Regions from separate parts of the Homo sapiens genome. Here regions 2, 3, 4, 5, 6 and 7 are each linked to region 1. Evidence: promoter capture Hi-C in 16 types of primary human blood cells and fetal thymus (Javierre and others, 2016). All regions are on one chromosome and are shown on one strand. Each heading gives the region's core, a stretch centred on a gene start or on the middle of the fragment in contact. The rest is flanking DNA. Distances are from core to core; before and after follow the strand shown. Region 1 holds the start of PPID (peptidylprolyl isomerase D). Region 2 overlaps RAPGEF2 (Rap guanine nucleotide exchange factor 2). Region 3 overlaps RAPGEF2 (Rap guanine nucleotide exchange factor 2). Region 4 overlaps RAPGEF2 (Rap guanine nucleotide exchange factor 2). Region 5 overlaps RAPGEF2 (Rap guanine nucleotide exchange factor 2). Region 6 holds the start of LOC101928007 (a long non-coding RNA gene). Region 7 overlaps GASK1B-AS1 (GASK1B antisense RNA 1).

Region 1 (3,537 bases), core at 1,036-3,535:
AGCACTCAGAATGGAGGCTGGCATACAGTAAGAGCTAAATATTTGTCATATAATTGAATCAACTTTTGCTGAGTATCTATGTGGACATGCCTATGTATGTATGCATTTTGTTAATAAGGCAAATTTGTGATTACACAGAAAAATTCAATCAATATAATATCCTTACTGATTTGTCCTAAAATTTCACCGACACCTATTATTTATTTTTTCACAAAAGGTATGTTGGTATTTTAATTAAAAACGACTCTATAAATTGGTTTTATTATTTATTTATTTATTGTTTAGAAAATATTTTTTGTAGAGATGAGGTTTCACCATGTTGTCTGGGCTGGTCTTGAACTCCTGGGCTCAAGCCTTCCACCCACCTTGGCCTCCCAAAGTGCTGGGATTACAGGCGTGAGCCATCACACCCGGCCAACAAATTGGTTTTATTATGAGTAGCTAGTAATACATGTAATTTCTCTTTTACTTTTTAAAATATTATGAAAAAATTTAAATGTGCAAAATAAAGAAGAGTAGTATAATAAACTCCCATGCACCAATCATCTGCCTGGCCCTTATGTTTCATCCACAACCCAACCCACTTACCTGACTCCAGGTTATTTTAAAACAACTTCAGGCACTATAGCATCTAATTTTCAGTAATTTAAAAAAGAGTGTATAAGAATGCTTTAGAGATTACAAGGCAAATGCTTACACATTATCTTTTTCCATTCTCATACCCTGTTCTTTGGCACTTTACCGAAAAGGAAATGAGAAGGGTTCAGAGAAATTAAATGACTTTTCTTTGGTAACATGCCTAGTATACATGTAGTCAGAACTTGAAGCTTTTGCTTTTTTTTTTTTCTTTTTTAACATCAACTTTCGTGCTTAGTCCAGTGTATAACATCACAGGCAAATTCAAATTGAGAATAGGAATCAGTTGTTCTTTAACCGTAACCCTTCTAACTTTTACTTATCCTAAGACCGGGTAGCAAGTAGGGCAGGAGCCTTCATCTAGAGGGATGGTGACAGCTCTGATAGGGGAAAATTAGCACTGGTCTTTCCTTCCAAAAAGCCACTCTGGCTGCTGCTGTTGACACAAGGCTCCTGGCTTTTGAGACATTATTTGAGTGCTGGATTCCAATACTTTTTACTTTCTCATAAGAAAAAAAAATGTGAAGCATCTAAGGATATCTCCTGCCTTATTGATAAAGTAAGCCTCAGGCTGAATCCAAATTGCTGAGCTCCAATAGAACTACAGGGCAAAGCATCTACACAGGGAATTGCCACTCTTCTCCAAAATTAGGCTTTATTAAGAGGCAAGGCTATGTTCTCCTCATATATATGTGTGTGTGTGTGTGTGTGTGTGTGTGTGTGTGTGTGTGTAAAAAGTAAATGTTTTACACAGATCCCCATAAGGGAAAAGTGGGCTATAGTAATACAGTATTTTTTTGTTTTTCTTTTTTTTGGGGGGGGGGGGGACAGTTTCGCTCTGTCACCCAGTCTGGAGTACAGTGGCGCGATCTCGGTTCACTGCAACCGCCGCCTCCCGGGTTCAAGCGATTCTCCTGCCTCAGCCTCCCGAGTAGCTGGGACTACAGGCAAGCACCACCACGCCCGGGTGATTTTTTTTTTTTTTATTTTTAGTAGAGACGGGTTTCATCATGTTGGTCAGGCTGGTCTCGAACTCCTGACCTCAAATGATCCGCCCGCCTCGGCCTCCCAATGTGCTGGGACTACAGGCGTGAGCCACCGCGCCCCGCCAAATACAGTTTTATCAGGAATCAAAACTGTGCTCTCTTCTGGACTCTCAGCTTTAGCTGTTTGGAGCGTTTAGTCTAAGCCTTACCACTTACATTGTAATGTGAAGATCAAATTGTAACGACATGGCAATAATAAGGCTCCTATTGGTTGGGTACCACCAGTTTATGCCAGGCATTGTACTGATTCATGTCTTTAATCCTCAAAACGACCTTCCGAGGTCAGCGTTTTTATTCTTTTTCCAGAGGAGCAAACTGAGTTTCTGAGAAGTCACACCCAACTTGGTGGCAGAGCTGACGCTGGCATGGGGTTGACTCCAAAGCTCTCTACGCCACGAGGGTGGGAAAGACAACGAAACACAAGCGAGAAGAATAATGAGAACTGGGATCGCAACTTCATTAAATGAGAAGCCAGGAACAGGTGGCGGAGGGCACGCGGTTCGCTGCACGGAGTCGCTCAGGCTCTTTGAAACACCGCGCGGGGGAGCGGGGCGGTGCCGGAAGTCAGGCCATGGCTTCCGGTTCTTGCGTCGGAAGTGGCCGGTCAGCGTCGCTGCCGGTCTCCGGCGGAGACGGACTCTGGAGTTTGGGCGGCCCGGGCGGCCACTAGGTACTCTGATATTCCGTACTAAACACGTCTGCAAGTCAAGATGTCGCACCCGTCCCCCCAAGCCAAGCCCTCCAACCCCAGTAACCCTCGAGTCTTCTTTGACGTGGACATCGGAGGGGAGCGAGGTGAGCGGAGTCTGACGCTCGCGGAAAAGCCCCGAGGAGGCGGGGGTTCCCGGGATTTGGGGGATTCCAAGGGCGGAATGCGGCTCCGGCCGGTGACTGCTCAGTTTCGCGGAGGGGATGGCTGCCTAGGCTGGTCCGCCGGAGCAGGCCCGGAGATCTAGGGCTAGATCGATCCAGCGCCCTTGTATCAATGCCATCGGTGGTGCGGAAGTTTCTGGAAATTTCTAGTTCGGGAATTGTGGCGTCCTTTAGGTTTGCCTCCTGATTTGGTGGCACTTCCACGCCACCTTTGCACTACCAAGTTAGCATGAAATATTTTATGTTTGCAATGGGACAGTTCGGAAAGCATATCCTGGGATATGCGTCTGCTGGGCCCCAGGAAACTATATTTGCCACATGAGATAATATATCAGCACGTGCTGTGTTATTTATACGTTAAAGGGACTTGTTTGCTCATTGCTTTTGCCTTATTACTGATTCTTAATTTAGAGGTCCGTTCAGATGAGCAAACATTTTCTCTTAATTTGCCATTGGGAAAATGCGCTCAACGTAGTGATGGTGTTGCCTAGGTTACATAGCCGCTCAGAAGTTCCTAAGGCCTGGTGAATTAGGGAGCGTGTTGCTTTGTAACTGGATTGGCCTTGTTCTGGAACACGTTGGAATTGCTGGCCAGGCAATGTGTTTGAATGCATGTACAGGACACACACACGTTTACACGTACATTCAGTTTGTTGCAACTAGCTAGGGCTAGGTTTAATCTCACCTGTCTTAGCTGCTATCTAGAGGAGGAATTTTTACAGCTTTTGCTTCAGAGGTTGCATGAGGCAGTTTGCTCAGAGCACAAAGGCTGCAGGTATACGTAACACGTGGCAAGTCCGCCCACCCAAAGACTGTTTAATTTTCTCCCGTTGGTTGCTTGGTGATTGGAAATTCTCAGTACCTCTTGAAGAAATTACTCAGGATTTAAAACTATTTGTATTTAATGATATCTCTTACATGGTGCTAATCTTTTGGCTACTATAATTGGTTATGATCCTTAGTGTAATGTTTCAAATCTGTT
Region 2 (3,630 bases), core at 596-3,095, 590 kb before region 1:
TGGAATCAACCTAAATTCCCATCAATGATAGAATGGATAAAGAAAATGTGGTAAATATACACCATGGAATACAATACAGCCATAAAAAGAACAAGATCATGTCCTTTGCAGGGACATGGATGGAGTTGGAGGCCATTATCCTTAGCAAACTAACAGAGGAACAGAAAACCAAATACTACATGTTTTTACCTGTAAGTGGGAGCTAAATGATGAGAACACATGAACACACAGAGGGGAACAACACACACTGGGGCCTTTCGGAAGGTTAGAGGGTGGGAGGAGGTGGAAGTTCAGGAAAAATTACCAATGGGTACTGTGGGCAGCAAGCCACCCAGGTGCCGAGGCAAGAGACCGAGGACATGAGCTGTTCCAGTATAATAAAATATAAAACAAGAATAGTTATACTAGATCTAGGTTATAGACATGATTATATATAAAATCATTAATCATTAGTTAGTAGTACTTACTCTTTATTCCAATATTATAATAATCCTCGTTCTATAATCATAACCTAGGAAAAACCAGGCCATACAGAGATAGGAGCTGAGGGGACATAGTGAGGAGTGACCAGAAGACAAGAGTGCGAGCCTTCTGTTACGCCCAGACAGGGCCACCAGAGGGCTCCTTGGTCTAGCAGTAACGTCAGCATCTGGGAAGATGCCCGTTGCCAGGCGGACCATGGTCTAGCGGTAGCCTCAGTGTCATGGAAAAACACCGGCTACTTAGCAGACCGGGAAAGGGAGTCTCCCTTCCCCAGGGGGAGTTTAGAGAAGACTCTGCTCCTCCACCTCTTGTGGAGGGCCTGACATTAGTCAGGCTCGCCCGCAGTTATCCGGAGGCCTAACCATCTCCCTGTGATCCTGTGCTTCAGTGGTCACGCTCCTAGTCCGTCTTCATGTTCCATCCTGTACACCTGGCTCTGCCTTCTAGATCGCAGCAGTAAATTAGTGAAAGTACTAAAAGTCTCTGATATGCAGAAATAATGGCATTAGCTGTCTTTCTCTTTGTCTCCTCTCTCTCTCTGCCTCGGCTGCTAGGCAGGGAAGGGCCCCCTGTCCAGTGGACACGTGACCCAAGTGGCCTTACCTATCATTGGAGATGACTCACACTCCTTATCCTGCCCCTTTGTTTTGTATCCAATAAATACCAGTGCAGCCTGGCATTCGGGGCCACTACCGGTTTCCGCAACTTGGTGGTAGTGGTCCCCGGGCCTAAATGCCTTTTCTTTTATCTCTTTGTCTTGTGTCTTTATTTCTACACTCTCTCGTCTCTGCACATGGGGAGAGACCCACCGACCCTGTGGGGCTGGTCCCTACAGGGTACTAGGCTTAAAACCTGGGTGATGAAATAATCTATACAACAAACCCCCATGACACAGGTTTTCCTATGTAACAGACCTGCACTTGTACTCCTGAACATAAAATAAAAATTAAAAAAAAAAAAGGACAAAAACAGCAAAAGAAAGACAGAAAAAAAGTCTCAACCATCACACAGCCTATATGCCACTAACCTGACATTTTGCTGTCTCCTTCCACCCACTTGCGTCTTCACACAAAACCAGAGTAGAAGCAAATCACTGTGACAATTTTACCAACTGCCTTTATGTTTACATACAGAAAACATGAGCTTAATAAAAACAGTGCTCACGAGAAAATTAATAGAAGTAATACTGCTTGAAAGGCTCATTTTAACTTTTTTTTTTTTTGTCATAAACTAAGCTTAAGAAAGGGTTTATGTGGAAAGGGTTTACTAAGAAGTTTCATTCACATTATTATTTGTAGACTCCTGAAGGTAAGACTGAGTAAACCTGATTTTTTCCAATTTTTGTCCAACAAATACTACTGTTTATACAAAGGAAATTAATAAATTAATGAGTTTTTAAAGCCTACTAGTCTTGGGCTCTATTTCATCAGACAATTTTGCCACTAAATCTTTTTAATTGCTCGTAGATTCATTTTCCTGTTCAAGCTTACCAATGTCATCATCTGTCCGGTCAATTGGGTCCTTCTCTAGGCAGTCTCTCACAATGTCCCTGCTCATCAGAGGATCTGATGCTCTCTCAATGTCTTCTTCATCGTCGTCGTCTTCGGAATCCACTGCTGTTTCTGGCAACCCACTCAGGTCCATATCACCAGCCTCGCTTTCTGTGGCCTTAAGACACACACACAAAAATTAAAAACTATTTTAAGTAAATAAATCTTTGGGGCCCAAAGAAACAAGAGCAAGCCTCATTCAAAATAATGCTTGTTATATTTATTTTTCCATCCAACAACTATGTATGCACCAGAAACTACATGTAACAATTACTTTAACAAAATATGAGTGATTCCACCTCCTATTAAATTTTTGGTCAGGAATAACGACTTTATCTCAGTAATTTTGATTTCTTATCCTAGCTGTCATATGGCATTTGAAACATAGTAGAATAAAGAAGAAAAAGTATTTGTTTTCACTCCATTCTTCAAAGAGAATGGCTTAGGCTAACAGCTTAAGGGTGACAATTCTGAGCAATTCCTTTTGCAGAATAGGTGTGAATTTATTAATGCCAAGAAGCCTGGACCATTTTACCCCAATTAGACAGTCCTTATGGAAAAATGAGCCACAAATCAAAGGTAACTTGATAAATATGCAAACGAAACATTAACAATTAGTTGGATTATCCCAATGACCACTGTTAAACTATAAATCGAGAAACACTATAGGAGACCATACGCGTAAAGGCAACATACTCTTTCTTCCCATTCATCAACACAGGTAATCACATCACTAAACTTCAAGTTATCAAGATACCTGCAAATTTTCTAAGTCACTGGAGTCACACATTTCAAGATGGCCTCTTTTGTTGAACTAGCTCAATCCTAGAACAGTTATCCTTTCTAGGTCACCATGTAGCCTTTTGTGACTATCATCTCAGCAATATGTATGTATATATCATACAGATCTTATTTGACATTATATACCTAGACTTCAATTATCACTTAAGCATAGTAAAAATGAATTCAATTAAATATTAACTACATCAATCTTGAACAGAAGTGTTTTTCCAAATGAAATATTAAAATCTTGAAAACATCTTATACAATTATTAATTTTGTAGAAAACGTATATTACAAAGTTCAACTTCAAATCATAGCCCATACGATTCTCAAAGATAATAAATACCTTTTTTAAGAAAAAAATATTTTTTAAAAGAAAGATAAAAATATAAAATACTGACTTTGATAATAATAATAAGGTAACACTAAATACTTACAATGTGTCAGGTACTGCTCTAATTGCTATGTATTTATTAACTCATCTAATCCTTAAAACAACCCTATAAAGTAAAAGCCATTATTAACTTTTATTATTCTCTTAACACTTAGGTGAAGAGAAATAATTTTTCCAAGGTCATGCTGCTGATAAACTGTGGAATCAAGACTACAACCCAGGAATTCTGGCTTCAGAGTCTTAATCGCAATCTAATCTGTCTCTTTTTAAACATTCACTGAATATGAATGTGGCTTATATAAGGATCTATCCTTTTCCTATAATTTAATATTTACAGAATAAATTGTGCTATTTTCTTTTTCTTTCTTTCTTTTTGTTTTTTTTGAGACAGAGTCTTGCTCTGTTGCCCAGGCTGGAGTG
Region 3 (3,542 bases), core at 1,037-3,536, 570 kb before region 1:
ATTTCATTAGGAAGAAGGGTGGATGTACTCAAAACTCTGACTCCATAGACTTTATATCCTAGTATTTGTGTGTCTGTGTTGGGGAGTGGGTAGGAAGTTGGGGGAAGCCCATCAAAAAAATAAGAACATCACTTAGTGGTAATTTAAAAATTAATTAAGTATCCAGGATATAGGGTGTGAAAGGTTTCCCTGCTTAGGTAACATCTGAGTACAAGATATGAATGGAATGAAGGCCTGACCCCTGCAGAAGCACATGGGAGTAGCAGGCATTTCAGCAACAAACACACTAAGAGCAAAAGCCCAAGGTAGGGTGGCGTTCGCATGTTTTAGGAATAGCTAGGTCAGTACAAGCTCTGACAAGGAGAGGGATTGGGGCAGAGAGATATTCAGGGGTGAAATCACGTGGGGAGCTATGGTAAAGAGTTTGGATTTTACCCTGAATGAGATGGGAAGCCACTGAAGGGTTTTGGGAGCTCAAAATGTACGAGTCAATAATTCAACACATTTTAAATATCAGCAACGGTGGTAATGTTGCACAAAAGATTTTCCTCATTTTAACGTGAACCAATTCTACACACATATACAAAATAAAGACTATGGAAGGGTATAAAGAAAATGTTAACAATAGCTATAATTACATGGTAGGATTATGGACAATTAAAATTTGTTTCTGCTTATCTACATTTTCTAAAATTTTAAATATAAATATGAATTACTTTTGAGATAAGAAAAATAAAACATTAACAGTAATTCCACATAACTTTAACAGAAAAAGATATTCATTACAACTTACATCAAGAGGACATAAAAAAAAAAACAACAGCACTAAAGCTTGTCTTGATATATATACAATGGATAGTGACTCAAAACTGTGAAACTCCATCTATTCTAAGTTATCATTTGTGGATACACTGGTTATATAACTTTATCAACTGAGAAACTTTATGTACTGTGTGGCTTCTCAAATACTGCCTAAGGTACAGTAAGTATTTAATAAGCAAATTGTCTGGTCAGGCATGGTGGCTCATGCCTGTAATCCCAGCACTTTGGAAGGTTGAGGTGGGAGGATAGCTTGAGTCCAGGGGTTTGGGACCAGCCTGGGCAACATGGCAAAACCCTGTCTCTACAAGAAATACAAAAATTAGCCGGGTGTGATGACACACGTCTGTAGTCCCAGCTACTAAGGAGGCTGAGGTGGGAGGATTGCTTGAGCCTAGGAAGTCAAGTGAACTGTGATTGCGCCACTGCACTCCAGCCTGGATGGCAGAGTGAAACCTTGTCTCAAAAAATGATAAAAATAATTACTAATCTCCACCCAATCCTCACACACACAGATGTATATATTCACACATACACAGGAAACTACCTTGATTTTAAATGACATCTCAGATCCTACCTCTAAAAATTTGCTTCTAGATTTTATGCAACAACCACCACCACAGGTACTCCTTTTCTAGTGACGGGTATTACAACTGAGCTAGACAATAATCTTTAAGACAAAAAATAATTATGTTACCCTTCTTAAGTTGCTAACAAAAACACTGGGTATTCATGTTATGTGTCTATCAATTTTTCCTTTTACTTCTGTGACAAAGATATCCATGTTAGGATTTATTTCTAAGGATTTCAATGATAAGAATTTAATTTCACATTTATTTTCAAAGGCTTCATGTGTCAACCCTGGCATGCCAGGTAATCTCATTGCTTTGGCTGTCGGGAGGGCACTATACAAGAACTGACTGAACATTTGTGGTGCATTACTCACTGTCTAGGGCCAGCAGGAATATATACTCATAAACTGCAAGAAGTCTAATAGATTTTTCTCTTTTCCTTCATCTTTTTTTTTTTTGTAAACCTTAGACACATGCCATTAAATGAATAGTCTGAATGACTATGACATCGTCAAGCACACATTACCTAAAAGAGACCCCCTCACTTCTGCCAATGCTCCAGCACTTTTCATGACTTTCTCAGTCACCTGCCATGATTGATTTACATCACCAGTTGAGTAACTCTCTTAGAAAGTACATTCTTCCCAAATTAATACAAACTTTTAATATTCTATTGCTGTATTAAGCTGTGGTTTACCTTCCTCAACTTCAGCTACTTTCTCTAAATGTTTCTGTTAAGTGTGTATGTGTATGCATACTGATGTATCATCCTAGGTTGAAATCAGGGAAACAGAGTAGCTTTCATTAAAATCCATTCAGAGAACCTGATGACTGGTTAAATAAAATCTGTGGTGTCAGTGCACATGCATGCACATACACAAAAGCAGGAATACTTTGAAAATGCCTTTAGATACAAAAAGTTTAACTTCCATAACCTTGAAGTTACACAGCCTCAATTCACCTTAGGAAAACCCAGAACTTAAAAAATTGACCAAGCTCCCACTATGTGTGACAGCACTCTGAGAGGGGATTTACAAATATGAACCCACTTCACTGTGGTGCCACTGTACTACCACTGTCCTATCTTGCTTCTTGTAACACCCTCTTCTTCATGTCGCAGCCAGAAGTAAACTTTTAAAACACGATAGGAAAATACACACCTGATCCTGTCACTCCCCTGCCTAAAATGTTTTAGTGGCTTCTCTTTCCCTTTGGAAAAAGTTATATTCCTAACCACTGCACCCCACTGTCTTCTCCTTTTGATCTTCTCACACTCACTTCTCTTCCCCTCAGCCTCTGTACTAAATATATAAATCTATTTCTGGTTATTTTAAATACAGCGAGATACTCTGTATCTCCTCCTGGGTCTTCATTGTTCCCTCTTCCGGGAAGAACACTCTCACCCCTGGCCTGGCTAATTCTCTGAACCCTCCTCCTGAAGTTAGAAATTCTTGTAAGATGTTCCTGTGATACCCAGAATGCTGCCTGTCACAGAACTTAAATACCTTTACAGTAGCTGCTGATTTAATAATCCAATGCCCTCTCTAGGTGTGTCTTTTTCATCACTCTTTTCCTAGCTTCTCATATAGTACCTAAGGTATAGTAAGTATTTAATGAGCAGATCATTGAACTGGTAACCCTACCTAGTTTAAAGTAGAAGATATTGAGGCTGAGAGAAATTGAACAGGGACTGTTTGATCCCAATGTTCTTTTCCTTACCAGCTCTATAGTCACCCCCTTCCATCAGCAATTATAGGTAAGATCACCAGAATAAAACTAAAACACAATGAACAGCAACTGTAGTTATGCAATAAATTTAGTTTAGCCTTCCTGGAAGCCAGCATCAAAAAAATTAATGACAAAACTTCTGAACTCAACATATTTTTAACTTCCTATCATAGATCTCAACAAGAAGCCTGTCAGATGAAGATATATAAAGTTACTCAGAACCATAAGATTCATTCATCTACTTAATTATCCAACAAGTATTTACTGACATCCTGTAACAAGCCGGTCACTGTTATAGGAACTAGTGATATGGCAATGACTAGGATTAGCAAAATCCCTGCTCCCTGAAACTTACACCCTTAAAGAGAGGAGGGGCTTGAGGGGAGAAGGGGAAAGGAGGAATATGTAACAATAAAAAATTTT
Region 4 (4,014 bases), core at 357-2,856, 520 kb before region 1:
TCTAAAGAAAATCATTATAATCCACTTTAAACTACTGCAATGCATCTAATTTTAAAAAGTGTACATTAAAGTATACATCATAACTCAGTGCGCATTTTAAATTCAATTCCAAGTTCTAAGTTGGAATTAGACTGGTAATTTATGCTAAAAAAAGACGAAGATCAATTACATATTGATTTATCTTTTAAAATATCATGTTATATATATTTTAAGTGTACTCTTTTCAGAGAAAAGCTCAAAACACTGAGGTACATAAAACTCTGTACAATTTTAAAATTATTTTAGTGAACTTAAAATTTTAAAATTACATAAAAATGTTTTAGATTTACCACATCATTTAAAAATTAGTAGTGCTTCCAAAAACCAATATAGCAATCATGACACCTGTGGCATTCTAATACGTACTCTCTTGTATAGAACATAAAGGAACTGTCTCATTTTAATTCGAAAAATTATACATAAAATTCATACTTTTAGGCAAAGTTACTCTAATAGCCAAAGATATATCAATGATAGATTTCCCCAATGTGAATAAATTATTCATGATCTTTTCCCTGTACAACAATAAAACACAAGCATAAAATGCTACTAGTTACTTAACCAATTAGTTTTCAAGGATAAATCAGTTTTTCTTCCTTGACTCAAAATTCCCGGATAACCCCAAATGTAATCTAGATCTTCAAAGAACTCATAATGAAAATCATAGATTTTAGTACTTAGTACAGTACTTTAGTAATGTACTTTAGTACTTAGTATAGTACTTAGTCATGTACTGGCATCAAAGAAGTGAGCAAGGAGATTATTACAGACCTCAATTAAAATGTAGAATGAAATAAAAGCAAGAAACCTTGTTAAAAATAAAGTGCAAATAAGAAAATACAAGAGATTTTAAACTTTGTTTCCTTTTTGACCAACCTTTTAAAAAAAAATCTGACTGAAATTTTACCAGTGGCCTCCCAAAATGTTCTCCCATTGAGATTCCTGAACTTTAAAGTTTTCATCTGTAGTATTTAAAATGTAAATTTCTAATGAATTTCCCATAAGCTTTCACATAAAAAGGAAAAAAAATCCTTTATGTCTGCCTGCCTTTCTCTCTTCATTTTTTTATTTGCAAAGCAGGTTAGTGAAGGACAGTGTTCCATTCATTTTTTTAAGTGCTCCATTCATTTTTAAAAATAAGTAGCTTGCACTTGAGTTCTTTCTTCAACATGGACAATCCATCCCCAGGTCTGTACAGATCAAGCAGCCTATTCTACCACCCAAACCACTGATAATTTCAAAGTAAATTAGGGCAAAATACAGAAGGACAAGACGAAGCAAAACATATGAATATTATAAATTCATTAGTAACAGTGCAAATTCACACGTAAACTTAGGTTAGTGTCAGAAGACCACACACAAATTACAATACCTGAGATTTAGTGCATTCCTTTGAGCCAAAATGAAATGAGTGCCATAAAGGAGGAAAGGAAAAGATGAACATTATCAGACATGCTATATTACATCTGCCAAAATGAAGATAATGTTAAAATTAAGTTAAGAATGATCATATAGAATCAGCTATATGTATAATGCTTCCCATGTTATTTAGCCATGCACTTGAAATGCTCTTGCAATGACTTTAAATCACCTGTGAAGTTGATCATGCAATTCTTTTAAATAAACTTTTCACCCTCAGTCCTTCACTATTAGCCAATTTCTTTCAAAGAGAACTATTTCTGTTAAGAATAAGTAAATATGGCGTAGGGGTAATAAAGAATAATTTCTATTTAATTCTTTTTACTATGTGGTATCATACACACAAAACAAAATTTTGCAATCTTCCTACATTAAAATTATGTATTTATGTAAAATAAATAATAAATTATAATGTTATTTTTACACCCCAAAAAAGGATGCAATCCTTATGACCATGTTGTTGCCAATCTTAACTCATTTAGTAAAATTAATACCACATGTCACACATTAGTAAACCAGTATATGATCCATTAGTAATCAAGCCAATTTTTTCATCCTACTATTGAATTTTCCCTAAAAGTATCTGCTGGCTAGGTAAGACACTCTTAAAAATCCACTTAAAAAAAAAAAACTTGTAACAATAAAAGAAATACATATTTTAAAACAAATAATGAAAAGGGAGCCGTGTAAGGAAACTGAATGAAGCTTTCCATAAAGGGGGAATCACGCTGGGGGTGAGGGGAGAGAACAGTTATTAAATGGCCCACCCAACTAAAGTGTGACAAATATGACTATAAGAACAAACAAACCAACTTTAACGCTACATTTTAAATAATCCATACTCCCACTGACTATTTTAGTCTGAAAACTAATCTGGAAAAACAATTCCAAAGCAGAAAAAAATTAGCAATATTTATGCTAGGCTAAAATATTATCTGTGTTGTACTATTAATATGTATAACTATTTTTAATACATATTTCCTTCTTCCATAATGCTACATCAACCCTAAAAACATTACCTTTTTTATGGACAATGGTAACAAAAAAACCTTTCATGGTTTTTTTAATACTAGTCTCTCCAACAGACAAAGATGTCTTTGTGATGAGGAAAAAGCAGTCCTTTCCAAATGAGCTCAATAAAATGATTCAACTATGAAATCCATGTTAAACTAAAATACTTCATGGGTAGCAAGAGGAGTAGTCAGGTTGCTAGTGGTCAAAACCACATTAAATATTTAAATAAAAAGGGCTCTCTGAGAAATAGAATATATGAAGTGTGGGTATAAGATATATCACTTAAACTTACTAAAAATTGAGTAAATAATTTTAAGTCTGTGTACATTTTTCCCATGCATTTTGTATTTATACTTATTTGCAGGAAGAAAGAAAAAAAAGGTAAAGGAAAACAACTGGGGAATGTAAAATAGTTGTTAATTATCTATTTTTATTTTTTATATTTTTATTTTAAATTAATTATACATAAAATAACCACTCATTTAATGGTATTATATGCATAAATGATCTTTCACATTATTATGACATATCCAGGAATCTAAGCGACTTTGCTCTTGAAAAAACAAAGGAATAAGAAAAAAAAGGCTTTAAAGTGACTTTATTGAGATCTTGAACAAAGCACTCATTATCTATGTCTTGGTTTCCTCAAACATAAAAAGCAGTTTATTTATCAATATTTATGAAATAAATGACAATGAACTGGGTTATGTCTGCCTGCCTTTAAGAGGATCTTTGAACCTATTAGAAATATTTCTAAGCATCTTTACATTGAGATTTTAAAAAGCATTATTTCAAATTATTCCTCCTTCACTGCATTAAAAAATAAATCTCAGAGATATTCTCATAAAGGTATAAAAAGCTATGAAAAATAATGTAATTTTTACATATCTACTTTTAAAATAAAAAACAGGGATGACAGCAGTCATTTGGGTTGGGAGTGAAGGGTGGAGTGCACAGGAGGGCGCTAAAATGTTAGATTAAGGTAAAACAACTTAAAATATTCCAATTACAATTACATGTGCTTATCACAAAGCTGATCTTCAGAGAACAACTTAAGAAATAAAGGAGCTAGCAAAGTCTGTTGACATGTTATTTCAATGTCTTTTAAAAACTAATCATATCATGTTTCCCAGAAAAATCTACTCTTTCTATAATAAATGTTTAAATAATATATACATATTATATATTTATTTTTATATTTATTAATATAACAAATAAAAATAAATATTTAAGTATACTTAATGTGTGTGTATATATATATAATTGAAAAGATTTGTCAAAAATGGAAAACTTAAACATCTTTTCACAAAACCCCAACAAAAAACTAGAAATAAATAAAAATATTATACTTGTATAACTTACCGTGTGATAGCCTCTAGGCAAAGGAGGTTTGCCCATGGGATAAGGATCCACAGTGTCAATAATTGTTTGTCTTTCACCTTTCTGGTTGATTTTTCTAAATCTCCTTCGAGACTGTCTATGGGAAGCTTGCCGCTGAAAATATTCTTCATTTTCATCCATATAGTCCACCTGAAATAAAAC
Region 5 (3,523 bases), core at 677-3,176, 540 kb before region 1:
GAGTTGAAATAAAATGCGGATACATTATTCTATTATAAACTCTTAATTTCATGTACATATGTAGGTATTTGAAAGACTGCATTATACTTGACAAAGAATAAGGACATTTTAATTCTGAAACACTGTCAGCTTTTCACAATCAGGTTTATCTATCAATGGCACATGTAATAGAAAATAGACACAGAAAATGTAGCATTTTTAATAATTGACTTTGGAACTGTCAGTGCTTGCTGACTTGTGTTTCTTGACTACTGCCAAAGACTGTACCCACCCTATTCTCTTTCCTTCTTTCTCCTCATATCTAAAGGCAACCATTCCCACCACATCACTCTTTTGGATCCTTCTCCCCATCCCCCCAACCCCTTTTCTTACATTACCCATTATCCTTCTTTTGCCACATATGCTTAACCTCTGCCCCACAACCGGAGTCCTCCCCACCAGCTTTTAAATGTGCAGGTCTCTCCTATCTCAAAAACAAAACAAAAACAGAATCATTCTCCAGACCAGGTATTTTCCTCTTCCTCCACTTCCCAACCAAATCTCTCAACAATCTGTTTTGGTTTTCACCATTCCTCATCCCATGGAATACTTACATGATGAACCATAGTGATCCTGTTATGCCATTTCTACATCTAAGAGTTTCCTTAACATCTCTGTCCATGATCAATCCATCACAACATCTGTTTATTACATTCTCTAATTTTTCTCAAATTTAGATTTCTCTTTGTCTTTGCTGTTATCATCCCACTCCAATCATTATTTTTTGCCTTGAGAACTGCAAAAGTCTCCTTAAGGAACTGTCTGGATTCTAACTCCATCCACCCAACCTATTTACCATACCACCTCCTGATATCTTATAAAAACTAAAGCCTGATCATTTTGCCCTCATCCACTAAGCTCCTTTTACAAATGAAAACAAAACACTTCCATGGCTTCCCACTGCTCCTGGCATAAAGACCAAAACTCTTATCATGATCTGCAAGATTTATACATTTTCCAGACTTACACCATGCTCATGGTCACTCTCTGCACTCCCAAGTTGCAGGGGCTGCTCTTGCCTCCTTCATAGACAAAAGGGCCTTTGCACATGTTATTTCCTCTGCCTGAAACTTTCCTTCTTCCTTCCTTTCCTGACTGATGCCACCTCCACTCCCAAAAACAAACTGGTGAAATACCCTCAGAAATCTCATGTTAGTGTTTATCCCTTCACTGAAGCACTCATTTACTACCGTTGTAATTTTGCATGTAGTCCCAAGAGTATTTAAGCAGTTACTGTCTGCTTCCTCCACTACACTCTCACCTCCATGATGGCTGGTGCCATATCTGTCTGTGTGTACTCCTGTGTTCACCGCACCAAGCACTGTAGGCACTCACGTTCTTGTTGAGTGAGTGAACCTTCCACTGACTGGGAAAGGGCACTAGAAAGACCCCATTTAATCCTCTAGACTAGTTTCTGTCAAAAGTCCAAATATTTTTCTGTAATAGATATAACTAACGACTTAAAAGTAAACTGTTGCCAAACGGTAGAAGCAACCCAAGTGTTCATCGACAGATAAAAATGTATGAATGATATTCATACAAGTGTGGTATATGCATTATTCAGCCTTAAAAAGGAATGAATTTCTATTACATGCTACACCATGGATAAAACTTGAAAACATCAAGCTAGAAATAAGACAGTCACAAAAGGACAAATAATATATAATGCTCTACTCTAGATACCAGAGTAGTCAAATAGTCAAATTCACGTAGGCACAAAGTAGAATGGAGGGTGACAGGTGCTGGGGGAAGGAGGGATTGGGGAGTTATTGTTTGATGGCACAGAGTTTTAACTTGGGAAGATCAAAAAAGTTCTGGAGATGGATGGCGGTAATGGTTGCAAAAACAATGGGAATGTATTTAATCCCACTGGCCTTTTACACTTAATAATGTGTAAAATTGTAAATTTTAATGTTACTTATATTTTATCACAATTTAAAAAAAGTAAATGGCAACTCAGGGATTAAACAATCAAGTTCTACACCTTCCATCTGGCCCGTGTCCCACAAAACACATATCCATGTGCCAAAACACTCCTCTCAAGGTTAAGTCAAATTACCCCCATGCTGATGGTATCTGACTTTATATATGTAGGTTACCAATTGCTTGCCTCTCTCTGGAAAATGTGTGACTTATCTCAAGAAGGAAACTAACCTAACCGGGAAACCTTATAGATGAAGTAAAATCACACATCCTTAGGCACTGATGCTTTTCTGTGCTAAGACTTGGCATGATCTCTCTCTCAGCCTGGCTCCATGCCTACAACCTACACATCTTAAAACTCATAATTGTAATACAGAAATTTCGTTATCCACACTATCTTGTATGTTGAAACACAATTATGGCAGGTTATAATACGCCAAACACTGCTAAAGAAATATAAACAAAGGATTTAGGAGAAACCCATATTATAGATTTTATACAAATAAGAAAAAATCACACTTACCTTGAAGTTCACTCTAATTTGGGTTATATTTACCCCATTCCTTAACCATTACCAAGTAGCATTAACTAGATCTTGTTAAGAAAAAGAACCATGTAAGAACTTTCTACCCTGTCAATAACATCCAATGACTTCCAAATTATCAGTAACAACACTCCAAAAAAATGGAGATTATATAGTTCAGGAAACTACTTAATGCAAAGGCTTTCCAGGCTATATTTAATATCATTATATTCTTTTTTTTTCCACCTAAAGTATTCACTTTCTAATTACTATGAAATTGAGAAAAATGGTCTGTTCTCAGTAATGATTAATCACACTTAGAACATATACAGTGTTTAACCATAGATCTCAATGTGCTTTACAAACATTTAATTAAACTTCATCAAAACGCAAGGGAATCAAGAGAATAATGTACTTATCTTTAATAGAAAAATAAAGTGTATAAGATTATAGAGTTAGTAGTATAGAAGAATGCAAAATAGAATTCTAAGTTTCTTAATACCACTTACTTCACTTAATAGTTAAATATTCCCTCTCCCCACTACCACAGAGGAAAAACCATAGAGGCTGGGGAAAACTTGTGGGTATAGCAGAAAGAAGTCATTCTTTGATACGAGAAAACAACAAATTTTACAAACTGGATTTTTAGTGTTTCACTGTTCCCCCCAAAAATGTCATTTTAAAATGCTATTTTCTATATGAGTACATCAAACTAATTAAGCACTAAGCCAATGCAAAATAAAAGATGGTAGATATGGTCAGAAGTTTTACTTCTCTTTTCCTAAAGCCAATACATCCCCCATTAATAGTGCATTTTCTTTTAAAAGAAAAGTTGATTATCTGATAAACTTTATATTTTAACTCAATCTTACATTTTCACGTCATCTATTTCATCTTTGGGTATACCTCACACAAGTCCTTGACACACCCCACCCAAAGCAGTCACAGAGGAAATCTGGGCTAAAATTTCATTTTTCTACTTTCATAAAGTGAAATGGCACTTCTGGTTCATTATTAAGAATAATTTAATTATGAAAT
Region 6 (3,578 bases), core at 927-3,426, 540 kb after region 1:
AGTTTTAAGCTTTGTTATACTTGACCTTTTTAATTTGCTACTTACAGGATGTGACCATTAATCTTAGAAAGTAGCTTTGCCCAAGTCCTGGACCTAGGTTTAGCACGCTCCCTCTGGATTTAATTCTAATCTCTAACTCCTCAGTGCCATTCAGCTGCTGAAATCTCTGCTCAGCATTCAAGCTTTCTGTTTGCTGTTTCCCACTACATATCTTGAAGGCTTGCCTTGTACATGCACAAGTCAGAAATTTACCCACAATTTGAGGGAAATTAGGATGCAGATTTGGGGACACTCTCTTAGCTTCCTGTCTTTTTCAATAGTTTGCTCCTCAAATCACAGCTCCTTTGGCGTCCTGAAACGCCAGACTTTGTCTCCTCTGACGTGTGAAACTCCTGCTTTCTTCTTGGGCTCTTTTCGCCTTCACCACAACTTGGAAAATGCCCCCAGGAAAATTCCGAGGTGAATGTTGAATACATCTTGTGTGCTTCCCTTTCTCAAGGATTTTAGCTGCTCAATATTACTTGCACTGGCTCTCCAATGCCTTCAGAAGATTGTTTATATATATATATTTTTCCAATTTTTAAACTTATTTTTGGTAGGAGGTTTAGTTAAATGTAAGCTACACTGTTGACTCCAGGGCCCAACATTTTATCCAGTGAATTTTAATTTGAACAGTTTTATCATTTCTAAATGTTATTTTAAGATTTCTTTTTAATGTGTACCCAATCATTTTTAAAACCTTTTGTTGCATGTTCCCTTTGTCTTCCTTTAAACAGTTTATATTTATCTATCTATATTTATGTTTGGATTCAAATAATTCCAAAAATTCTCTCTCTCTTTGTGTTTTTTTTTTCTTTGTATGCTTGTGATTTCTAATATTAACCGCAGATACCTTGATGTCATTTATGGAAGTTTTAAATTTCAGAATCTTTCATTTTTAGGAAATTTGTAAACAATGGATTATATGCATTTTTTCCTTATTTATTCTGGGTCTAGGTTTTAGGTAAGATGGCCTTTGAGAGTTTCCAGCCTGACAATATATACTGCTTGAAACAGAAAGTTATACATTTTAATTTTGAATTGTGCTCTCTGTGGAAAACTTGAAAAGAAGTAAAAATGTTTCGTGATGAACTTATGTTCACCAAGCCTCTCAGACACTTATATGCTTTGGCTGCAGAAATTCCAAACTCAACTTATTAAACTTTTTTATTTTACAAAGCTATATATTTTAGAAAGAAATCTATCCACCTGTTAGCTGAAATTCAATTAATTGTAAAGCATTTTTTCTTATTTAACGAAAAGAAGAATGTCTTTTTTTCCATGATTCAATAATTGAATAAGTGAAAATAAGCTTTGGTTCAGTTTGAAACTTATGACAGATTGGTAGGTGAATTATTTATCAATGAAAATGAATTATCTATAAAACTACCCAAAGCAGTCCAATACTGTCACTTGGTAGACAAATTTAGCATGATTAGAATTGACATATTTAAGGTAAGTAGGCATGGTCTACTTAATTATATTGAGACAGATAGAATGGGAAGAATTGAGACCTGAAACTAGACATTTCTGTTTGGTTTGGGCAGGTTCTCAGGGTGGCAGATGAGGAAGAAGGTGGAGAACAGGATAGAAATGAAATTTTGAGAAGGGAGTCCAGCCTAGAAGGTAGGATCCTGTAAGTCCCTTGACTGCTAGGCCATTGTATATCATTTTAACTGCTACTTCCAAAGTGTTTTCACAATGTCTCTCACATGATAGTTGCTCCAAAAATATTTTAAATGAAAAAAATTGAATAATAGAGGAGTCTAAAGATATGACAACAAATACTTCGGTCTCTAATAAGCGATTACAGGTTTCTCCATAATAAGGAGATACCTGCCAGGAGAACTGTCTAAATCCATTCAATAATTGGGTGACCTCTCCCTTGATCAAAGTATAAATGGGCATGACCAACTCTGAATCTCCTTTTGACCGTGATAAATGAATATTTCTAAGGTCTGTCTTTCCCCACCTGATAATGACAAAGCTGACTTTTTTTTTTTTGGCATGGTAAGGGCTTGCATGTATTAATTCATCTAATCCTCACACCAGCTCTATGAGATTGATGCCATTATTAAGAAAGGTAAAACAAGTATTCAATTATGATACCCCGCATTTCAATTACATTGCCATGACTTACCTCATTATAGCCTCATATAGGTTACCATAGACTAGTTCTAAATTTCAAAGGCAAAAATTGCCAAAGATTTGAATCCAAAGTAGCATGCAGACTACAGTCCTGATTATATTTTAAGTCTTTTGTTAAGTATAAAAGAAGATAGTGAAGCAAATTCTGGATAATTTGCTGCATTAGTAACTTAATAATACAACTTTTTCTTGAACCTGAAATCATGTGTTGATCAAGGAGTCTTACCAACAGTGTCTTACATCTCTTTAGAGAGTGCCTAGCCATTAGTATCATCCTTGCAAGAAAAGAGAAAATAATGAATGAGCAATTACATCTTACAGTATATTGAGCACTGTGCTAAGTGCTTTACATATAGCATCCAATTTAATTATTAGAACCGTTCTGTGTACTAGATATAATACTCTTAGCTTTTCAGATGAGGAAACTGGGCAAAATTAAATATCTTGCCAAAAGCACCTACCTGAGATAGGAATCTTTTTGTTTACAAATTCGTTAACTCAGTTAAATGCAGATTTGTTGTCATAAATTATATTGTCTGGTTATTTCTCTAAGCAATTAGTGCAAAGATAAAACAAGGAGTTGCCTTTGAACTGATGATTACCTCAGTCAAGGGTGGCTTCATTCCCCAAAGAACTGCAGTATAATGTGCATTCTTAACCAAAGCACTGGTCATTTCCTGTGGAAAAATAATTGGAGTGTGTTATATTTAGAGAACGACATGTTCATTCTTATAAAAATATTCAATTTTTTTTTCCTGTGTTATACTCCTTGGTATCTTTTCATCTTTTTATTTCGGAACCCATTCCAAGCTTCTAACCAAAAGCTTTTAGGCTTATAATTTTTGGCTATGCTACAGGTTACATGACCATGGGAACCCGATGACTGCCTTTTGGAAAACAGTGTGATTTTACTATAAAAGGAGTCTTTATGGATTCATAACTGGTGATGGGCTGTTGAGGATTGATTTTTCTCTGGTGTTTTTCCTTAGGCAGTCCCTCCACACCCAGCCATGGGTGCTCCTGGTTTTCATTCCATGGGCTGTGAGCTGTAGTCTCTCTCAAATTCCTTCTTTTTCCGGTTTCTACATGCTGTGAACTTGCTTTGAGAAGGGGCTTGAATCTATAGAGCTGAGTAGGTGAGAGTGGGTGGCTGGGCAGGGTATGTGATGTTAACACATTCTGTGTTTTTGATCCAAAGGGTAAAATATCAGGAAGGAAATGGAACTCTCATAAAGACGGCAAAAGGAATAGAACGACCTTAAATAAACTGCAAATATTGTTTTGAATCACCTCCCAACTTTTTGCTTTTCTGTCCTTCTTCTTTTGGCATCTTTCTGTCTTCCTCCTGGCCTGCCCCATTCTTTTTGGGGCTTCTCACTAGGGCAGTCACC
Region 7 (3,842 bases), core at 1,333-3,832, 530 kb after region 1:
AAACCATAGCAGTCCTATTTTCTTGGAAATGAAGTCAAAATAGATGTCAAATGTTGTGTCCTGAGACCCATTCTCTGAAGCTTTGCACAGGAGCTTAAATCAAGGCTTCACTGATCACAATGACTTAACTCCTCCAGATAAGAGTGAGATGTTTCATTCTTATTGCAATAATTTTAAACAGCAATGCATCTCATAGTCTATGATTTCAGAGAATACAATTTCTCAGTAAGTAAGCAATAGTCCCTCTAAGAACTGGGTTTTTAGGGCATTTTATGGCTGCAATATGTATTTGGGAAAAATATTGTTTTCTGATAAATTTGCACCTAGCTTAATCTGCAGCTCTGGTTCTAGATTGATGAATGTCAGGGACATTGCTTTCTTGGTCCAAGTAATTTTCTCAGACTATATTCTATAACTTACTCTAATTCTAAACATTGATGAATAGGTCACTGTCCCTTCCTAGGTAATCTGAGTCAAGACACATAAAGAGTTTGTATTTCATATTTTAAATTTATAATACAAGGTGGTTGGAAGAAGTCTTCAACAGAGTATGTATATAGAATTAGATCGTTTTTAAATGTTAATGACTAAATTACCGTGCCTCCGACAGCATGTTTACCAGAACTCAGCATCCAAGTGTCCCACAGTTAGGTTTGCCAGTTTCCAACAGGAGGCCTCAAGGTGCTCAGACTCCCACTGTGGCATCTTCATAGTTTTTCTTTCTGGTTCTAGCTTGCTCTGGCTAACAACCACTATCATCAAAGTTGTCTGAGGAAGACCTCCTGTTGCTGTGACTGACGGGACTCTTGGTGGAAGCCCTATTCCCATGTGCCCATGGCTGCAGCTCCCCAAGGAAGCAGGACATTGTTGGATTCTCTAAGAAGCTCAGAGGAAGTTACTTCTCACTGTGGTGCCATATGGGATTTGAAGTCGTTCTACTCATGCTCTGTTTTTCAATAAAGCTGCTTCTGCCTCTGTCTTCTGTGCCGTGTCTCCTGTAAGGAATTCCCAAAACTTAAAGCAAACAAAACCAAAACCCAAAGCAAAAAATATATAAGTAAATAAATATACCAAACAAATCAACTAATTAAAAAAAAAGGAAGAAGAAATGAAGTCAACATTCTTTGAGATCCAGCTCTGATTCTACCTTACACAATGATCAAACCACAACACTTAACTTCAGCCCACAGGTCACCACATGGCCGTTCCTACCTTGCTTGTTGGCACAGCCATGTGATTTTCTTAAACAATGTTCCCCAGTCAGTGGATTCACAGGGTGAGAGTTGGCATAATACCTTTGGTGAAAATACAGAGGAGAAAGGTAATTGAAGGTGCTGGTGAGAGTATCATTGATGAGATTCTTCAAGGGCCCTAAGAGGGCTGGAGAAATAAGTAAGAAAAAAAAAGGTACTGATGGAAAAGGCTTCTAAAGAAAGACTTCTCAATGATCTATAATAACACTAACCATAACTACTAATAATTATTGAGCCTTTATTTGGGAAGGCACTGCAAAGAGAGCCTTATCTGCATCATCTTGTTCAATTCTTAGAACAGCTTGGTGAGTTACATACTATTATTTTCTCCATTTTATGAATGAGGATTCTGAGTCTCAAAGAGTAACTTGCTCAGATCCATGTGGCTAATAAGTGGTAGTGCTAGTTCTTAAACCAAATTTTCTCTGATTTCAGTGCTTGTGTTATTAGTTCTTAATATGCTTTCCAAAATATTGTGAGATATGCACCTTATTCTGAAACTTTAATGAGATCTGAAATACACATGCAAATAAGTATCTATAGAAGGTGAAAACTGTAATGTGTCTTTTTACATGCACTTTCAAAAATTATCTAAGCCTGCTTCATCCACTACCCCTTCTCTCTCTCTCTCTCTCTTTTTGTTTCTAACTCCTGAGTCCTCTCATTTTGACTCTCTTCCCATTATTCTTCTACTTTTCAGGTGGATGACCCATTTTCAAACTTATCCTGATTTTTACCTTTAGGATTTTACCTGGATATTATTCAATTTCATGAACCAAAATCACCAGTAAGATACAGCTTAACAGTTGTCAAATATTAATGATTGTAAGAAAAAATCAGATATGCTTGAAAAAATTATCAAGCATAAGCTATGAATTGATATGGGAAGTTTACTAGTGAAAACATAAGAAAAATTTGACCCACATGAGGGTTAAAGATTTAACACAGGTAACACATCCAACATGAGGATAAAATATAGTTTTATTAGTTTTGTCATAGTTGATTTGTTCTTTCTCTACACCTGCTGGTAAGAAGAAAAAACATTAACTTTGATTTAAAGCTTAGTTTGATCTGTTAATTTAGGCAGAAGCTTTATCAATAGTCTGCCTTGGCAAAAAGTAAAACACAAACAACGCTTAGTTTATTACACAGCCCTCCAACCCCCCGAGTTATCTCCCTCAGGTAGTGTCCTTGTGTCTGAGGGAAGGGGTGGGGCTTTCAGGGCATTATGAACATAGATGAATCAGAGTCCTAAGATGTTAGATGCTATGTCTCATAAATCCTCTAGTTTCCAGGACAACGACCCATCTAATTTCTGCCTTGTCGGCTGGCATTTGTGGCTAAAGTGTAACTCTTGCCTTTTGCTCTTCTTACTGCATAGAAACTGTCAAAATCACCAGTGGCAGCCAGTTTGCTAAGTCTAATGGTTAATTCTCTGTCGTTATTTGTGTCACTCTTCAGCAGCATCTGTCACAATTGATTTTTCCCTTCTCTTTCAGGTTTTGCATTCACATGGCTGCTAGAACACCACATTACCTTGGTTATTCTCCTTTACTCTCAAAGCTTCTTCATCAGTTTCCTTGGATGGCTCTTCCTTTTATTCCTAACCTCTTAATTTTGGAGTTCCCAGATCACTCTTCTGAAATCCAGTCCCATATATCTAATACCTTACTCAGTATCTCCACTTGGACGTCTGAGAGACAACTCAAACTTACCCCAAACCTGCCCTAGACATATCTTCCCTTTATCAGTTGCAATACTACAGTTTCTTAGACCAAAAATCTTGGGGTCTTCAGGCTCTGCTAGTCCATAGCTTTGTCTCTTTCCTCATAGGGGAGAAACATAGATCAGGATTTTTTTTCTCCTAAGGTCTTGCCTCTGTGATTCACAACCCTTTCTCTTAATTGACAATTACTGTATTACAGTGCATAATCATTTTACATGTGCAAAGTTGTTTTGAAACCTAGAGACCTAGGTAAATTTGGGGTAAAACCATATATGGAATTTGAAATTTATAATCTGAAATAATCTTTTTCATCAAAATCAGATAAATGCATAAATTTTCTCTTGCAGGCTTGAGTAATAATTTCAACTGGCCGCATTTCCTTGACCTCCTTTTGATCCTCCATGGGGTCTCAAATTCAACAATTCAACATGTTTAAAATACCATCTTTCCTACAAGAGGCACTTATAGCTACATTTGTCCTTCTTCTGGAAATAGAACCTCTATTCTTCTTAGAATTGTTTCTCTCCCTGGTCTAATTTTACAGCTTCCATGAGCATTGCCATTTTCTTGCATGAGCCCACCACCCTGGCTCCCATTTGATTGGTTCAGGAATGTCAACCTGGCCCAAGCTAAGCCAATCATAGTATTTTAAGACTCTAGTTACAACTGTTTGATCCATTATGTAACACAAGATGGGTCAGTTACAATCCTTCCTTAGAATATTTGAAATTGGAAGCACAGAAAATAAAAGGCAGTTCCCTTCGGAGATAAAACCTATCAGAAGTAAAACTTGGGAGCTGTTTGTAGTCACATTTCCGACTATACGAATGAAAACAGTCTGCAGTGAGAAAGAATAAAACTGA

Evidence for each region. The method cuts DNA at HindIII sites, captures the fragments that hold promoters and counts their contacts. A CHiCAGO score of 5 or more calls a contact.
Region 2: a contact is called between a fragment that was not itself captured here and the fragment with the promoter of PPID in region 1, in 11 of 17 cell types (erythroblasts, M2 macrophages, megakaryocytes and 8 more). The highest score is 18.6, in erythroblasts.
Region 3: a contact is called between a fragment that was not itself captured here and the fragment with the promoter of PPID in region 1, in 16 of 17 cell types (M2 macrophages, erythroblasts, non-activated CD4 T cells and 13 more). The highest score is 14.3, in M2 macrophages.
Region 4: a contact is called between a fragment that was not itself captured here and the fragment with the promoter of PPID in region 1, in 17 of 17 cell types (M2 macrophages, megakaryocytes, total CD8 T cells and 14 more). The highest score is 17.8, in M2 macrophages.
Region 5: a fragment that was not itself captured here is called in contact with the fragment with the promoter of PPID in region 1 in 17 of 17 cell types (M2 macrophages, non-activated CD4 T cells, erythroblasts and 14 more); the score reaches 12.9 in M2 macrophages.
Region 6: a contact is called between a fragment that was not itself captured here and the fragment with the promoter of PPID in region 1, in 1 of 17 cell types (M2 macrophages). The highest score is 5.2, in M2 macrophages.
Region 7: a fragment that was not itself captured here is called in contact with the fragment with the promoter of PPID in region 1 in 1 of 17 cell types (M2 macrophages); the score reaches 5.7 in M2 macrophages.

Annotation. Positions count from the first base shown.
Region 1 is chr4:158,722,144-158,725,680 of GRCh38, reverse strand. It overlaps PPID (peptidylprolyl isomerase D), which reads left to right and starts at 2,285. Exons shown (of 10, transcript NM_005038.3): 1 at 2,285-2,477. The coding sequence starts at 2,393. RefSeq lists enhancers at 1,707-2,291, 2,179-2,658, 2,292-2,875. The HindIII fragment of the contact is 3,604 bases long and covers 830-3,537 here.
Region 2 is chr4:159,313,112-159,316,741 of GRCh38, reverse strand. It overlaps RAPGEF2 (Rap guanine nucleotide exchange factor 2), which reads right to left. Exons shown (of 30, transcript NM_001394067.2): 9 at 1,974-2,151. Among named protein-coding and RNA genes, the nearest start is that of MIR3688-1, 190 kb to the right of the region's middle. RefSeq lists an enhancer at 531-825. The HindIII fragment of the contact is 250 bases long and covers 1,721-1,970 here.
Region 3 is chr4:159,289,062-159,292,603 of GRCh38, reverse strand. The region is part of intron 7 of RAPGEF2 (Rap guanine nucleotide exchange factor 2); the gene reads right to left. Among named protein-coding and RNA genes, the nearest start is that of MIR3688-1, 160 kb to the right of the region's middle. The HindIII fragment of the contact is 2,906 bases long and covers 834-3,542 here.
Region 4 is chr4:159,241,189-159,245,202 of GRCh38, reverse strand. It overlaps RAPGEF2 (Rap guanine nucleotide exchange factor 2), which reads right to left. Exons shown (of 30, transcript NM_001394067.2): 6 at 3,835-4,002; 7 at 1,412-1,429. Among named protein-coding and RNA genes, the nearest start is that of MIR3688-1, 110 kb to the right of the region's middle. The HindIII fragment of the contact is 1,119 bases long and covers 1,047-2,165 here.
Region 5 is chr4:159,263,027-159,266,549 of GRCh38, reverse strand. All of the region lies in intron 7 of RAPGEF2 (Rap guanine nucleotide exchange factor 2), which reads right to left. Among named protein-coding and RNA genes, the nearest start is that of MIR3688-1, 140 kb to the right of the region's middle. The HindIII fragment of the contact is 4,147 bases long and covers 1-3,523 here.
Region 6 is chr4:158,178,947-158,182,524 of GRCh38, reverse strand. It overlaps GASK1B-AS1 (GASK1B antisense RNA 1), which reads right to left. Exons shown (of 5, transcript NR_147410.1): 2 at 2,790-2,864. LOC101928007 (a long non-coding RNA gene) reads left to right here and starts at 300. Exons shown (of 4, transcript XR_007058350.1): 1 at 300-459; 2 at 1,587-1,665. The HindIII fragment of the contact is 1,646 bases long and covers 1,354-2,999 here.
Region 7 is chr4:158,196,241-158,200,082 of GRCh38, reverse strand. It overlaps GASK1B-AS1 (GASK1B antisense RNA 1), which reads right to left. Exons shown (of 5, transcript NR_147410.1): 3 at 1,213-1,295; 4 at 597-995. Among named protein-coding and RNA genes, the nearest start is that of TMEM144, 12 kb to the left of the region's middle. The HindIII fragment of the contact is 473 bases long and covers 2,346-2,818 here.